Linked DNA regions of Homo sapiens: region 1 is linked to region 2. The links are contacts of gene promoters, found by promoter capture Hi-C in blood cells and fetal thymus (Javierre and others, 2016). All regions are on one chromosome and are shown on one strand. Each heading gives the region's core, a stretch centred on a gene start or on the middle of the fragment in contact. The rest is flanking DNA. Distances are from core to core; before and after follow the strand shown. Region 1 overlaps UBR2 (ubiquitin protein ligase E3 component n-recognin 2). Region 2 holds the start of XPO5 (exportin 5).

The links. Contacts are between HindIII fragments. The CHiCAGO score rates a contact against its expected background, and 5 or more counts as called.
Region 1: a fragment that was not itself captured here is called in contact with the fragment with the promoter of XPO5 in region 2 in 1 of 17 cell types (total B cells); the score reaches 5.5 in total B cells.

Annotation. Positions count from the first base shown.
Region 1 is chr6:42,570,983-42,574,059 of GRCh38, forward strand. It overlaps UBR2 (ubiquitin protein ligase E3 component n-recognin 2), which reads left to right. Exons shown (of 47, transcript NM_001363705.2): 2 at 2,752-3,011. Among named protein-coding and RNA genes, the nearest start is that of UBR2, 8.5 kb to the left of the region's middle. RefSeq lists enhancers at 1,778-1,837, 1,928-1,977. The HindIII fragment of the contact is 744 bases long and covers 1,251-1,994 here.
Region 2 is chr6:43,574,734-43,577,711 of GRCh38, forward strand. XPO5 (exportin 5) reads right to left here and starts at 1,305. Exons shown (of 32, transcript NM_020750.3): 1 at 1,027-1,305. The coding sequence starts at 1,131. POLH (DNA polymerase eta) reads left to right here and starts at 1,452. Exons shown (of 11, transcript NM_006502.3): 1 at 1,452-1,707. RefSeq lists a silencer at 1,252-1,451 and an enhancer at 1,472-1,721. The HindIII fragment of the contact is 3,950 bases long and covers 292-2,978 here.

The DNA.
Region 1 (3,077 bases), core at 373-2,872, 1.0 Mb before region 2:
CCGATTTTTTTTTTTTTTCTTAACCAGAAGCTGATACTAGCGTCTGAATTTTTGTTGAAGAAATCTATGAACAAATTTGCTCTCGTTACAGTTACTAGACTGCATAATTTTTTTTTAGAAAGCATCCATGCTAGCCTGTAGTCCCAGCTACTTGGGAGGCTGAGGCAGGAGAATGGCGTGAACCTGGGAGGCGGAGCTTTCAGTGAGCCGAGATCGCGCCACTGCACTCCAGCCTGGGTGACAGAGCAAGACTCCGTCTCAAAAAAAAAAAAAAAAAAAAAAAAGCATCCCTTCTAAAGTAACCTTTCATTCTTGTATTAAAATTTTGCAACAGTGAAGTTTTACAGGAATGGGAACATAAAATATAAGGAAAAAAACTGGTTTTTAAATAAAATCTTTCAATATGTTGTAAAAAAAAGTCCGAAGCACTTAACTTTCTAGGATCATGGAGGTGAATTATTTTGGTCTTATTGCTTAATTTTTCTTTCATAAAGAGTAAATTGAATCCTAGCACCTTTGGGAGGCCGAGGTGGGCAGATCACCTGATGTCAGGAGTTTGAGACAAGCCTGGTCAACATAGTGAAACCTTGTCTCTACTAAAAATACAAAAATTAGCCGCGTGTGGTGGTGCACACCTGTAACCCCAGCTACTCAGGAGGCTGAGGCAGGAGAATCACTTGAACCTGGGAGGCAGAGGTTGCAGTGAGCCGAGATCGTACCACTGCACTCCAGCCTGGGCGACAGCACGAGACTCAAAAAAAAAAAAAAAAAAAAGCGCTTAGGATCATTTGACTACCTTCATTCTTGTTTTGGTTTGCTGACAATGGGTGAAAAATGAGACATTTACCTTTGAATGAGGCCAAAACGAGGTCTTTTAGCTCAAAGAATAAGATTCTAGTATGCTTGTTGAGGACTCTTTTTCTTTTTTTAAAACTTGTCCTCTTTATAATTACTGAGCTTAAAGGATGTGTATGTATATATAAAATTTTGATTGAGTCACTCTGAAGGGAGAGAATACTTAAAGCCTGTAGGATTGTCTCCTAAGAAATGATGCTGCTGCTGCTGTTTTATTTTTATTTTTATTTTTTTTTCCCTAACCACTTGGCCACCAGGGAAGAAATGCTGTTGTTTTGAAAGTAATTTAGTCTCTTTCCTACTTGCATAATGTAAACACAACAATGTTAGTAATATTTGGAAAATAGTTTAGTTTCACTTTAAGCATGAAAACTCTTTCACCGTTTTTGGTTATAAGCTTCTATCCAGTCCCTTAACTTATGAACAAAATTTTTACATTTTTAGTAAAAGTTCTCTGAAAACAGAAATTGACTAGAAAGTTAATATACATCACCTCATGCATATTTAAAATCTCTCTGTATGTTGTTTTTAGAAGGAGTGGTCTGAAGAATATACAAGTAATAGCTAAAATGAAGACCTTATGTTGACTTCTTATGATGTTACATATCACTTGAACATACTTTTTTTTTTTTTTTAAATAAAAATGTAACTGGAATTAGGTAGTAATCCATAGGTAAACATTGGAGGTTTTTTTTAATTTCAGCTTTTACTTTAGATTTAAGGAATACATGTGCAGGTTTGTTACATGAGTATATTGCACCTGGGTAGTGAGCATAGTACCCAATAGGTAGTTTTTCAACTCACTTCCCCTTCCTCTTTCCCTCCATCTGTGGGTTTTGTTCACGGTTCAGTTAACTGCATTCTAGCAGAAGTGAGTCTTTTTTTTTTTTTGTCCTTTGAGACAGACTCTTGCTCTGTCGCCCAGGCTGGATCTTGGCTCACTACAACCTCTGCCTCCTGGGTTTAAGCGATTTCTCCTGCCTCAGCCTCTTGAGTAACTGTGATTACAGGCATGCGCCACCACATCCAGCTAATTTTTATATTTTTAGTAGAGAAGAGACTTCACCATGTTGGCCAGGCTGGTCTTGAACTCCTGACCTCAGGTGATCTGCTTGGCCTGGCCTCCCAAAGTGCTGGGAAGCTTTTCAGATTTTTCGGTGTGGATACCCAGGTTGAGCTGGAAATGGAGAAAATAACAGATTTTGGTGGAGCATGGAGGGGAGATCATGCATTCAGTTATTGAGTTGGTACCTATGAGATCTAAGTAGAATCATGCTTTAAAATTTGTTTTTAGTGGGGAGAGCAAACGGAAAAGGCCTTATAGAGAGAGAGAAGTTGATCAGAGAAAGAAGGCATAATTGGTACAACAGTCTCTTGTGGACTGACTTATTCAATAAGAGACTGGTATATAAACTTGCTTATCAATCATTAAGAAATGTGTATTGGCTGTTCATGTTCACCGTACATATTGGCTGTTCATATTCACCGTACACTCTTCCTATGGACAAACTGACGTGAGAATTGATATCACAATGAGAATAACATTTGAGCAAAGCATTAGGAAGGACATTAGGTGAGCTCAATGGTTCATATCTTATATAATGATTTCTTGTAATTATTTTCTGGTACTGCCTAGAGAAGATTGCTTCAAGAGTCATTTTGCAGGGAAGGAGGGAGGCTTGTTTCATTTTAATTTTACTTACACTTAAAAGTAGGATTTAAACATACTTGGCATTTTAATAGATTAAATTTCTAACGTACGGTGGTGAGTGTTGTAAACAAAATATTTTAATATGCTTTTGTCATTATTTTTGTACCTAAAAGAAAGTAGGGTGAATTTGTTCAAATTAGTTTGTTGGTGTTTAAAACCATTTCTTCTCTTTTCTTCTTTTAAAGAAATGGCTGCAAGCAACTGACCTCACTAGAGAAGTGTACCAGCATTTAGCCCACTATGTACCCAAAATCTACTGCAGGGGTCCCAACCCTTTTCCACAGAAAGAAGACATGCTGGCACAGCATGTTTTGTTGGGACCAATGGAATGGTACCTTTGTGGTGAAGATCCTGCATTTGGATTTCCAAAACTTGAGCAAGCAAACAAACCTTCTCATCTTTGTGGTCGTGTTTTTAAAGTAGGAGAGCCTACATATTCTTGCAGGTAAAATATTTTAATTTTCTTTCTAGGAGGCTCTTGTTTTATTTGACCTCTTTTTTTCCCTGGAAC
Region 2 (2,978 bases), core at 55-2,554:
CGGTAAAATCTTTGATTGCTGAATTTAGGTGACAGGAACATGCAGAATCACTGTCGTATTCTCTCCACTTTTGTGTCTATTTTAAATATTAATAATAAAAACCAAACTAATGGAACCCAATTGTTTCTGATTCCAAACCCTGTGGCAGACATCTACATATTGTAACATTTCCTCCAAGTGGTGGTCACTCTCTTTTTTGAAGTTAACATCACTTTAAAAATGTACAGCACAAGTATTTTCTCCTAAATGGCCATTTCTCACAGCCCACACACGTTGTTTTATGGGCAAGTAAGCTTGAATTGTATTAACACCCCCAAACTGCAACATAAGTCAGTCCCAAGAGCAGAGCATTCGGGTCTCACGCAAACTACTTTCAGGAAACCAAAGTGCCCTTGTTAAAATGCAAAGTAAGTGGTAGAAGTTATCTTTGCGCAAAATAGCCTAAAAATATTACACTCAAAAACATGGGAGAAGTAGGGGTGCGAGAATTTCCCCGGAAAATGTCCAAGACACAAACGAAAGTTAGCGAGATGTTAAAGCATATAAGCATAAGGGTACCAGAGGGGCTGGAGCTCGGTCAGGGCCAGGGGAGTGGGCCAGCAGGAAAACGTTTAGTGCAGGAGAGACCATAAAGAACGAAGCTGGTGTTGGGGGCGGGATCTACACGTGCGCCTCGGGAAGGCGAGGGGATGTCGGGCTTGGGGAATGAAAATGGGCGAGGGTCATGTTGCGGACAAGAGTGCACAGAAGCGAGGAAAGGGGGAGGAGAGGGCTGTGGGAAGCTGCGGCGAGATGAGAAGCAGCATAGGGACCGGAGTGTCCCAGGCAAAGGACAGGAGCGGCGAGTAGAGAAGGCGGCGATTTGGGAGAGGCGCGGAGGGCCGCGAGGGGAAGGTCCCGGGGAGTTGGGAAAGGAGGTCCAGGGGCCGCGTGGGCGGGAGACTACCCCAGTTACAGGCGGCGCCGGAGCTGCTGGGGCTGGGAGAGGGTGTCGGGACCGGCCCAGGACGCCAGGACCCCAGCTACCTTGAGGGCTTCCAGCCGGTAGCGCTGGGTGGAGTTGGGGTCCATCATGACCGTCACCGCTTTCACCAGCTGCTCGCACAGCGCGTTTACTTGATCCATCGCCATGCCTAGCGCCACGCGCCGAGAGCGCACACCACTGCAGTCCCGGGACCACGAGGCACGACAGCTCCCTCGGCGAGACCACCCGTTGGTACCGGGCCGCGGCGGGCGGCGGGGGTGGGAAGCTGGAGGAGGAGCGTTAGCAGCAACTCGCGCTGGGAAGAAGCCGGCGCTGCGCACGCGCCCGGCCCGCCACTGCGCACGCGCCCGCGGAAGTGGCGGCTCCCGTGTGCAGGTTGAGCCTAGGTGGGCGGGGCGGGAGGCGGAAGGGCCGCGGTGCGCAGCCGCGTCAACGGCCCTTCGCAGCGGGCGCGCTGTCAGACCTCAGTCTGGCGGCTGCATTGCTGGGCGCGCCGCTCTCGTCTGATCCCTGCTGGGGACGGTTGCCCGGGCAGGATCCTTTACGATCCCTTCTCGGTTTCTCCGTCGTCACAGGGAATAAATCTCGCTCGAAACTCACTGGACCGCTCCTAGAAAGGCGAAAAGATATTCAGGAGCCCTTCCATTTTCCTTCCAGTAGGCACCGAACCCAGCATTTTCGGCAACCGCTGCTGGCAGTTTTGCCAGGTGTTTGTTACCTTGGTAAGAAAATTTAGAACCGTTCGCTGTCACTGTGTTCAGACTTTCTATGTTGCCTTGGCTATTGGTTTTATAATGTAGCAGTGACTGGGCCAAGGTTGCGTGAAATATAAATCATGCTAACAGGGATAAGGCCCTGGTACTGTCTTCTAAGATTTTTCTTGTAGAAAAAAGTATGTTTTTCCCTGTAGTTGTTAAACCTCTCTCTTGGAATTACTTTCCTGGATGTATTATTACCTGGTGGGCACTAAACTTGTTTTGTGCGGATTGGGGTAACTCGAGATGTTTAAAGGGAATAATTGCAATCAGTGAAGGTTTGTGCAGTTTTGATAATTGGCCAAGTGCTATGTATAAGGTTTCAAAGTAGTGTAATCCTTATCCAAAAGCATGGCTTGGGCAGAAAGTCTTCTTCATTTTCCATCTTTATAAAGCTCTTGGCCGGGCGCGGTGGCTCACGCCTGTAATCCCAGCACTTTGGGAGGCGGAGGCGGGCGGATCACCTGAGGTCAGGAGTTCGAGACCAGCCTCACCAACATGGTGAAACCCCGTTTCTACTAAACATACAAAAATTATGTTTGCATTTTTAGTATTTTTATACAGGCGTGGCGGTGCGCGCCTGTAATCCCAGCTACTCGGGAGGCTGAGGTGGGAGAATCGCTTGAACCCGGGAGGCGGAGGTTCAGTGAGCCGAGATCGCGCCTTTGCACTCCAGCCTGGGCGACAGAGCGAAACTCCGTCTCAAAAATAAATAAATAAAGCTCTTGCTTTCTCCAGTAAATACATAAACGGAAAACCTCAACAGCTTTATTATCTGTTAAAGTCTGCATGTCTGTTTTTGTGATTGTGTGCTTAGTAAATTGTGTGCTGAACATAAATCACTGCTTCCTATTCTTGCTCCACTTCTGGTATTTGGATCTAATATGGTGCTTAGCCTGTGTTTTTTTGTGTTACAATACTATTTGTTGGCTCAGTCTGTTCCAGTACTACTGAAAAGCCACTTCAAAGTAGAGGGACTTCTGGCATGTTATAGTTTTAACTTGTAAATGTTTAAAGTATCACATTCTGCCTGTTTTAGGCGTGGTCGATTGGAATTTATAAGGAATTAATGCTTTGACTGCTCTGATTTTAATTATTTTTCTTTCCACTCACCTTCCTGCTTTGCAGTTGTAAGACGTTTTTTTTTTCAAGGTGAATGTTAGTTTTTGAAAAACTTTTTTTAGAATACAGTTGGGTGCTCACTCAACTGTATAACCTGTGTTTCTCGTATTTAAATC